Linked DNA regions of Homo sapiens: region 1 is linked to region 2. Evidence: promoter capture Hi-C in human tissues and cell types (Jung and others, 2019). All regions are on one chromosome and are shown on one strand. The core of a region is centred on a gene start or on the middle of the fragment in contact, and the rest is flanking DNA. Distances in the headings are between cores, read along the strand shown. Region 1 holds the start of HOXB5 (homeobox B5). Region 2 holds the start of CDK5RAP3 (CDK5 regulatory subunit associated protein 3).

Region 1 (4,838 bases), core at 2,339-4,838, 620 kb before region 2:
ACGGCTCCATTAAAAACGGAGTGCGTCATGCAAGGGGGTAGGGGGTGACGCTGAAGAGAAAGAGTTGAGTCTGTCTGGGACTGTGTTTCCCTGTGGGTGGGGAGCTGGGGCAAGATGAGGCACCAGGAAAGGGGTGGTAGTCAGAGGAGGGAGGAGGAATAAGGGGAAGGAAGAGAGAGGGAGCAGGCGGAGCGAGAGAGGGAGAAACAGGCGCGGGGTCTCAGGTTGGATTATTTGTTGGCCTTAAGTCCCAACTGATGTCCATTAGCCGGACTCGAAAGTGAGGAGCCGTTAATGTGGACTATGGATCGATCTACGTCATTACGGATTAACGGCCTGGATTTATCATTGGGTTGGGGGGATGACGGGGGGTGGGAACAAGATGGATGGAAAGGGAGGGAAAGACAAGATGCAACTAGGAAGAGACACACCTGACCAGCCCCTCCCCCCAGGCTCAGGTGGGAGTTCAAACTGCTCCTCCCCTCCCCCATCTAGAGTCTAGACAGACGGCACAGGCCTAGGAGACTAGGAGGGAATCTGGAGGGGGCGCTGGAGGAGTGCGAAACGGGGGAAGGGAGCCGGCAGAATAGAGGGCATCCCGGTACTGGCTGGAGTCTGTGTTCGAGGGTCGACTAGGGGAGGGGGTCCTGGGCCCGGTGACCGCAGGCCTCAGCATCTCCACTCTGCGTAACAGGTTCCTCCTTTGGGCCCAGCGGCCGGCGAGGCCGCCAGACATACACACGTTACCAGACGCTGGAGCTGGAGAAGGAGTTTCACTACAATCGCTACCTGACGCGGCGGCGGCGCATCGAGATCGCGCACGCCCTGTGCCTGACGGAGAGGCAGATCAAGATATGGTTCCAGAACCGACGCATGAAGTGGAAAAAGGAGAGCAAACTGCTCAGCGCGTCTCAGCTCAGTGCCGAGGAGGAGGAAGAAAAACAGGCCGAGTGAAGGTGCTGGAAAGGGAGGGAGGACGCGAGGGGAAAGGCCTGTGGGGAGCCGAGGGCGTCAGAGAGACCCGGGAAGGAAGGCTCTCGGGTGGGGGAGCCAGGAGACCTGCTCTCCGGCGCAGACAGGCGGGGCCCAGCGCTCTCCTGGACGCCCCCGCCCGCACAGCTCCCGGCGGGTGCTCTGAGGCCTCACTACTCGAGCCCACCCAGCATCCCGCGCGCCCTTCCTTCCCGAGGAACTCGCCTCAGCCTGATCAGGCTTCCTGGTGAGAACTGAGGAGCGGACTCACTTGATGTTTCCTGGAAGCAGAGCAAAATGCTCTTGTCCCTGTCGCGTCTCATTTTGTCCATGTCCCCCGTGCACGGTTCAATGGTAGATTCGCTGTCCCCTCAGCGGGGGCCTTGAAGACTCCCTGATCCCAGACCTGTCGTCTCTCCCACCCCCTCCCCAAAGCCACTGGAAGGAGCACATACTACCTAGAAGTAAGAAGAGGAGCCTCAGAAGAAAACAAAGTTCTATTTTATTAATTTTCTATGTGTTGTGTTTGTAGTCTTGTCTTAGCTCTGGACGTGAAATACTTCGATGATGATGATGATGATGATGATGATAATAATAATAATAATAACAACAACAACAACAATAATAAAGATGTGAAAACTCGACGCTCGGTCACCTCCAATCCTCCCCTGCCATTTTTTCCTCTCTCCTCAACCCCCAGCCTCTCCATCTTTCCTGAGCCAGAATTCTTCAGCAAAGGCGAGAGCCCTGGCCCGCCGAAGCGAGCCCTGTTCGACTGGGAAGTTACAGCTGAGATAAAGGCTGGAGCGATCAGTCCTGCCCAGGCCCCAGCGCTGCGTTTCCCTGGTGCTGAGGCTCACAGCCGCTTCTCCCCGTGCAGACTTGGGGGATGGAGAGGTGCTGTGTCCCTCTCATTCTCTAGCCTTTCCTCGTGTATACACAGCACTAAGGGAGCCACTGAGGCCCCTAAAGCTCTCTGGCGGAGACGGAGCCATAGTCTGGGGGCCTCTGCAGCGCTTTTCTGTCCTCACCTTCGCAGCGACCCCTGGTCTTTGGCCCGTCCACATGGCCAGGTTTTTTCGCCAGCCTTGGCCCTCCGCTCCTGGCCTGTGGCTCTGGAGACTGAAAAATGGGGCCACTGGGTATCTCTCACCCTGCAGCTGAAGGCTCCAGGTGCCCCTTCCCACCTCAAGTAGCAGATCAGCCTCAAGTAGGAGATCAGCCTCAAGTAGGGGAATGTAAAGCCACCAGCCAGGCACAGGCCGAAGGCCACAACTTTCCCTTGCTCCTTGGAGACCCCAGGGCAGGAGGCCAGGTGATGGGGCTTTTAGTGTCATCCTCTCAACCCAGAATGGCTCATTCTCTCTCTGCTTGCACCGGCACCCAGAAGGCAAGCTGCGGTCACTGTTTTCCTTTATTCCTCCGCCCTCTCGCTTCCTTTCTTATTTTTAAAGAAAATAGTCCCCTCCTAATAGGAGACCAGCTGCGGCGGTCTCTGGCCGCCCAGCGTGCTCAGCAAAGCATGCGGGTCCTTGGAACCCCTTTTCCGGGAAGGCGGCTGCCACCAGGCAAATTCTCAAACTGCCTAGCTGCGAGTGAGGGACCTGTAGTGGGGCCTCCGAATGCAATAGCCGAGGAGGAGGGGAAGGGATCCCGCTTTACAAACTCTCAGACACATGTTACTACTCAAACTAAGCAGCAGACGCGGTGGCCGCTGCAGTCTTTTCGGCAACTAGGCCGCTTAGCCCCAGCTGTGCTCGGTTTCTGGGGTCCCTGTCCTGCTCTGTCACTCCCCACGCCTGGGCTAAGGACCACCAAGGAGGTCCGGAAGGGGATTTCGAACTTCCAAGTGGCCCAGGAGAAGTGAACGCTTCTCCTTCTTTTTCAAGCCTCCCGCCCAGCCCTGCCGGCTCGGCCTGGGCGCTGTGGACCGGTAACAGCAGTTCCACCAGGATGCAGGCCGGACTAAGCTCCTGGGGAAAACCCGTTGCAATAATTGTTTTTCACACACAACTTCCAACCCTTCCCCCATTTCCGCCTCCAATTCGGAGACTTGCAAAGCCCAAGAAAGGGAAAAGCAACTCTATCTTTGATCTTCTCATCCAAAGTTAAAATAATAACGACAATGATGATGTAGGGAGAAAGAACCAAATAGAGAGGCTAACCCCACCCACAAGAAAGTGGGTAAAAAGCCCAACCCCTGCTCTAAAAGGCTCAACCCTGTGGCTGAGCCTTGGCCGGGTTTCTTTCTCTCCCGGCGACTGCAGGGAGCCTGCAGGGAGCCAGCAGGGAGGCAGCCGCCCGCCGCCATGGCGGTCTCACGCCCGCGCTCCCGTCGGTCGCCGGGAGGTGGCGCGCTCTGCTCAGAGGCCAAAGCCAACCTTCTCTCTGTTTCTCCCCCTTCTCCTTTTTTCCCCCTCTCTCGGAGGCTCGCATTGAATCGGCCCTAACGATTCTCGGATCGTCATTATTTGTAACCATAGAGCATGAATTACCTCTTGAGGTCATCAGCGAGAATTTACGACTGGTCAACAAAAGCACGTGATTCCCTAACGCCCCCCACCCCCCTTCCAACCCCCCCCCCATATTTGGCCGCATACATAGCAAAACGAAGTACAGTGCATCGCTATAATTCATTAATACATCATAAATCGTGAAGCACAGGGTTATAACGACCACGATCCACAAATCAAGCCCTCCAAAATCACCCAAATGAGCTCGTACTTTGTAAACTCCTTCTCGGGGCGTTATCCAAATGGCCCGGACTATCAGTTGCTAAATTATGGCAGTGGCAGCTCTCTGAGCGGCTCTTACAGGGATCCCGCTGCCATGCACACCGGCTCTTACGGCTACAATTACAATGGGATGGACCTCAGCGTCAACCGCTCCTCGGCCTCCTCCAGCCACTTTGGGGCGGTGGGCGAGAGCTCGCGCGCCTTCCCCGCGCCCGCCCAGGAGCCCCGCTTCAGGCAAGCGGCTTCGAGCTGCTCCCTGTCCTCGCCCGAGTCCCTGCCCTGCACCAACGGCGACAGCCACGGCGCCAAGCCCTCTGCTTCGTCCCCCTCCGACCAGGCGACCTCAGCCAGCTCCAGCGCCAATTTCACCGAAATAGACGAGGCCAGCGCGTCCTCGGAGCCTGAGGAAGCGGCAAGCCAGCTAAGCAGCCCCAGCCTAGCTCGGGCGCAGCCAGAGCCCATGGCCACCTCCACAGCCGCGCCCGAGGGGCAGACTCCGCAAATATTCCCCTGGATGAGGAAGCTTCACATCAGCCATGGTAATTCTCTCTCTCTTTTTTGTCTTCTCGGCTTTCCTTCTCTGCGTTTTGGGGTGGGATCGGGGGGACAAGGAGAGCTTGGCTTTACCCTAAATATAGATTCATTTTTCTAAGGGGGAGAAGTATCTAAGAGGGGCCTCATAGCTTCGTAGACAGAGCCAAAAAGGGTCTCTCTGTTAAGAGGGGGGTATTTTTAATAATTTGTTTCCAGCTTCGGCTTAGGTTTTTATTAGCGCAGCTGAACCAGCTTTAGGATAAAGGATGGGGTTCATATAATGTGGGGAAGGGTCCTGCTTACCCCTGAAATTTTGAGACTGTCGCTAGCAAAGAAGGGGTGAACAGTAAAAGGAGCTTTCCGGGGCAAAAGTGCAACCGCTCTCCTCCCTCCCGGGGCGAGCGGCCGCCTGAGCCCAGCCAAGGGTGAGGCACTAGGAGCGAGCAAGAGACAAAGCCGGGCGCACTGGCTGCCTGCAGAAGTGGGGGATGCAGTAGAAAGGGGTGCAGAAATCGAGCTTGAATGTGGGCATCTGGAGTAGAGAGGATTGGAGCTGTGGTGAGCTGGGTGCCGGGACGCCTGGGTCCTGCTCCCCCG
Region 2 (5,137 bases), core at 15-2,514:
GAAGCAACGGACTGGGGTAGTCAAACAGACACCATCTTAAGGACAAGATTGGCATCAAATCCATGAATCCAATAAGCATTTTAAAATGCCAGGAGCTGTGTGATCAGATGAAGAGGCCTTCCCTGACTATGAACTGGGGAGGAAGTATGTAAGCCCCATACAGACAACCTGGAGATGGCCTGGACACTAAAAGGTTTTCATTTGCAACTGGGTCTTAGGTCCCTCTTCCTCCTAAAATCAAGGGGGAGGTGGAAGCTTTTTAAATGAGGTTTTTTTTTTTTTTCCTGGCATAATGCAAAAGGCATGGACAGTGGGTCAGACAGACTTAAGTTCCAATTCAGATGTGCCACTTAGTGGTTGACTGTTTTTTGTCTTCTTTTTGAGATGGAGTTTCGCTCTCGTTGCCCAGGCTGGAGTGCAATAGTGAGATCTCTGCTCACCGCAACCTCTGCCTCCGGGGTTCAAGCAATTCTCCCACCTCAGCCTCCCGAGTAGCTGGGATTACAGGCATGTGCTCCCATGCCCGGCTACTTTTTATTTTTATTTTTTTGTATTTTTAGTCATGGAGACATGGAGACAAGGTTTCTCCATGTTGGTCAGGCTGGTCTCGAACTCCTGACCTCAGGTGATTCGCCCACCTCGGCCTCCCAAAGTGCTGGGATTACAGGCATGAGCCACCGCGCCCGGCAGTGGTTGACTGTTTTTAAAGCGAGTCATTTATCCTGTCCCTGAATGATACGATAACATATGTTATTAAAGGAGAAAACGCAGGTCAAACAGACTGTACATATGGTTCGTTCCCGCTGCTATCAGGGAAGCAGGTCTGGCCACAGATGGGGCATAGAACGAGGCCAGTGGTCAGCATCTCGACTCAGGCTTTCAGGGGTCAGAGCTCCCGGCTATTGGACACAGGGGGCAACGCACAGGCCTCCCCCCGACAGCCAGCTGCGCGGTGGCGCCCCCTCCTACCGAGCAGCTTGCTGGTCTGGATGTCGATGGGCACGTGCTGATGGTCCTGGCGGGAAACACGGTGAGGAGGGGGGCGTGAGCGCGGAGAGAGGACGTACCACTCGCGCGCTCATTTCAACGTCCCAACCACCACCCTGCAGGGCCAGAACGGGGCCAGAGCGATGGGCTGGGTTGAGCCGCTTCCGGAGGGAGACCGGAGACACAGGTTAGGGGTCCGCGGCCAGTCCCCAGCACACCCAGCTCCTGTCCCCACACCTCCATCTTTCCTCCACTTCCGCTTCAGGCTGGAGACTGTGGCCCGCCCCGCCCTACCACCAATCCAGTGGCGTTGTGGCCGAGCCTCCGTTTAGACACAAACGGGCATCCTTCGGCCACGTCGCCGCCTTCCGTACAGCCAATCAGGGTTTACGCTCCACTCAGGCCTCAAGCCCCGCCCACCCCAGGCTCCGAATGGCTGAGCTCGGGAGGGGCGGGAGAATGGAGACAGCCAATTGGAGACGCGAGGCGGGCTCAGGGCAGGGGACGGGAGGGGGTGCGCTGCAGCGGCCGTGGGATTGCGACAGGCGGCGCTCGAGAGCCCAGCCTGGCAGCCGCTTCCCCTGGCGGGCACTGGGTCTTCTCCACGCAGATTGAGACGTCTGCTGGCGGGGTCCTAGCGCCGATCTGGGAGGCCGTTGCAAATACCTTCTTCCCTCCTTGCGTCGCTTTACCATCCAGAGCAGTGTGCAGGTCTCTTGTGGCACTTGTCATGCTTTGCCTCCTCATTCAGTTTCTCTAATAGACATGGTTGAGCACCTGCAACGTGTTGGGCGATTAGGGCAGGGAAGGGGAAGGAAGAGAGTCGGTGAGACGTCCCAAAGAGAACACCTACATTGAGTCTAAACGAAGAGCTGAAGATAGCTGGGTGATGTGGGAAGAGGAGTTTTAGGTGGAGGAGACTACACAGACAAAGCTTAGGTGGCCACAAACTGCAAGAGGGGTGCAAGCAACAACAGGCAGGCAGGACGGGCAACGTAATTTGTGAGGTCCAGTGCAAAATGGAAATGCACAGCTGCTTGTTACAAAATGATGAAGAATTTCAAGATGAAGTCGGCTCCGCGGGCAGGCCAACCTCTATACCGTAGATGGTTTGAGGCAGCGAGTGGCTAGAGGAGAGGCTGTAAGGGTGGAAAGGCCATATCAAAGGGAGACTTATTAAGGAACTTGGACTTCATCCCTTCAGACAGAGGAATCACAGAAGGGGTTTGAGGCAGGGAGGAACCTGTACAGATAGGCTGCTGGGATGATGGATGCATGGGAGATAAGACTGGGGACAAGGAGGCTGGAAGGAGGTTGTTATCGAGGGATTATAGCCTGAGCTGGGACACAAGATATGAGGAGGAAGGGGAAGGGCTGGATCTGAGGAATATTTAGGAGGAAAATGTATAGGACTTGGCAATTGATTGGCTGTTTGGGTGGAGGAGAGAGACACTAAGGATGACACCTAGGTGATTAGGTGGGAACCACCACCTGAGACAGGGATGCAGGATGCTGAGCAGGTGTTGGGGAGGAGGGGGTCTAGCTTTGAACCTAGTCTGGCAATGCTGGGAGACCCCCAGATGGAAAGTGTGCAGAAGGCACTTGGGTCTATAATTTTGGAGTTCGAGGGAGTTGTCGGGGCTGGAGATACAGCTTGGAGAGTCACAAGCTGGCTAATCTGTGGTCCGAGTGGTGGCTGAAGCTAAGGGAGAGTCTGAGATTGGCCAAGAAGTGGGTAGAGTAAGGAGGGAGGGTAGGCTGAGGCCAGATCCCCCAGGATCTCACAGCGCTGGGTATGCCTTTTCTTTTTTTTTTTTTTTTTTTTTTTTTTTTGAGACGGAGTCACGCTCTGTCGCCCGGGCTGGAGTGCAGTGACACGATCTCGGCTCACTGCAAGCTCTGCCTCCTGGGTTCACGCCATTCTCCTGCCTCAGCCTCCCCAGTAGCTGGGACTACAGGCGCCCGCCACCACGCCCGGCTAATTTTTTTGTATTTTTAGTAGAGACGAGGTCTCACCGTGTTAGCCAGGATGGTCTCGATTTCCTGACCTCGTGATTCTCCCGCTTCAGCCTCCTAAAGTGCTGGGATTACAGGCGTGAGCCACCGCGCCCGGCCCTGGGTATGCCATTTCTAAATATTCCTTCCCCAGCTCCTGTTCACCACAGCACAACACTTGAGGCTTAGTAAATTTTTGATTGAAATGCATAGTGTGATACAGCAGCAGGAAGACCTAGATTCTGCCCAGTGAGGTCTTGGACCATTTCTATAACCTATCTGATAGCCACAGTTTCCCCACATGGAGATAACAGCTATCCTATCTCAGGGTATTTCTGTTTAGAGGCTTAAATAAACACACTAGTAACTCATGACAGTTTACAACATACTGTGGCTGTATTTCTCATGCTTTGTAAACTCTCCCTATATGAAATATCATATATGGGCCAGGCGCGGTGGCTCACGCCTGTAATCCCAGCACTTTTGGGAGGCTGAGACAGGCGGATCACCTAAGGTCAGGAATTCGAGACCAGCCTGATCAACATGGTGAAATCCCATCTCTGAAAAAAACAAAAAACACGCTGGGCACGGTGGCTCACGCCTGTAATCTCGGCACTTTGGGATGCTGAGGCGGGTGGATCACGAGGTCAGGAGTTTGAGACCAGCCTGATCAACATGGTGAAACCCTGTCTCTACTAAAAATACAAAAATTAGCTGGGCGTGGTGGCGTACGCCTGTAATCCCAGCTACTCAGGAAGCTGAGGCAGGAGAACTGCTTGAACCCGGGAGGCGGAGGTTGCAGTGAGCCGATATTGCGCCACCGCACTCCAGCCTGGGCGACAGAGTGAGACTCCATCTCAAAAACAAAACAAAACAAAAAACAAACAAACAAACAAAAACAAAAACCATCCCGGCGTGGTGGTGCATGCCTGCAGTCCCAGCTACTCAGCTACTCGGGAGGCTGCGGCGGAAGAATCACCTGAACTTGGGAGGCGGAGGTTGCAATGAGCCCAGATTGCGCCACTGCACTCCAGCCTGGGCAACAGAGTGAGACTCCATCTCAAAATATATATATATGTCATATATGATCATTATTATTATAGAACGGATTGAAAAACTGCTCTGAAAATGGCTCATAGAGCTGAATTAAGGGCCTTTTCAGGGATCTTTCATGGGAATTTGGCTCCCATCTGAGTCAGCCTGACTCAGACTGTAGGAATTGCTCAGGCTCCTCCATGATTAAACACACACTTAACTGGGCCCCAACTATGTGCTCGGGGCTGTCTGGGACATCTCAAGAGCAAGGCACTGCCCTGCCCTCAAGGTGTATCTATCTCTCTTCCTTGAACCAACAGGCTGGGCAGAACAGGACAGGGTGGGTCTGGAAGACCCAGCCCAGGTGAGTTGATGGAAGCAGGGACCACCAGCACTTCAGCCCCACCCACAGCTCCCCAAGGTGACTCACGTGGAGCAGAAGGATGTTTGAGAACAGTTCTGCCCAGCTACTGACTCCAGGGAGGCTGTCCCAAAGCCAGAGGCTCTGGGAGAGAACCTGCCTCTGCTGACTGCAGAGGCTCTGGGGGAGAGCCTGCCAAAGGCACATGCTTCTGTGTTCCCAAAGAGTGTAGGAGCATGGGCCTTTGGCGGGTTTCTGCACTTTTCCAAGGCCACAGGGAACTTCAGGGTCTGTGGGTAGATAAGCACATAATTGGTCTGGCATCCAGGGCATCGACTCTATCTCCTTCAGGAGACTTTAGTCATCGGGGCTCCCAGCAGCTAGAAGGAGGCAGAGAGAGGTATGGTAGGTTTCTGACCAGGAATCTCTCAGTTCTCTGCTGATTTAGCAGATGGGACCCTGGGAGAGGGGCAGCACATGTAGAGAGGTGAGGAGGATATACCAGGGCTGCACCAGCTTTGGACAAGGAAGCACAGAGCCCCGAGGCACCGTGTAGGCAGCCTACCTTGCCATCCATTATTGTTGTTGTTAGCTTGCTTATTACGTGATAAACATGCCCACGTGCCAGTGTAGATCTAAATGTTTTACAAGCCTTATCTAATGTGATTCTTCTAACAACCTTATAATGTGGGTACCATCATTAACCAGATTTTAAAGGCAAGGAAGCCAAAGATTAATTACGTAACATGTTGAAAATCA

Evidence for each region. The method cuts DNA at HindIII sites, captures the fragments that hold promoters and counts their contacts. A contact is called where the count stands out against the background at its distance.
Region 1: a contact is called between the fragment with the promoter of HOXB5 here and the fragment with the promoter of CDK5RAP3 in region 2, in 2 of the 25 tissues and cell types used here (IMR-90 fibroblasts and lymphoblastoid cells).

What each region holds. Positions count from the first base shown.
Region 1 is chr17:48,592,529-48,597,366 of GRCh38, reverse strand. It overlaps HOXB5 (homeobox B5), which reads left to right and starts at 3,588. Exons shown (of 2, transcript NM_002147.4): 1 at 3,588-4,246. The coding sequence starts at 3,685. The region is part of intron 1 of HOXB-AS3 (HOXB cluster antisense RNA 3); the gene reads right to left. HOXB6 (homeobox B6) reads left to right here. Exons shown (of 4, transcript NM_018952.5): 4 at 695-1,616. The coding sequence ends at 954. RefSeq lists enhancers at 704-873, 931-1,602, 2,645-3,150, 3,380-3,449, 3,151-3,658 and a silencer at 3,915-3,964. The HindIII fragment of the contact is 8,811 bases long and covers 1-4,838 here.
Region 2 is chr17:47,967,240-47,972,376 of GRCh38, reverse strand. CDK5RAP3 (CDK5 regulatory subunit associated protein 3) reads right to left here and starts at 1,264. Exons shown (of 14, transcript NM_176096.3): 1 at 1,225-1,264; 2 at 970-1,015. The coding sequence starts at 1,230. RefSeq lists an enhancer at 275-902 and a silencer at 1,324-1,613. The HindIII fragment of the contact is 4,856 bases long and covers 1,089-5,137 here.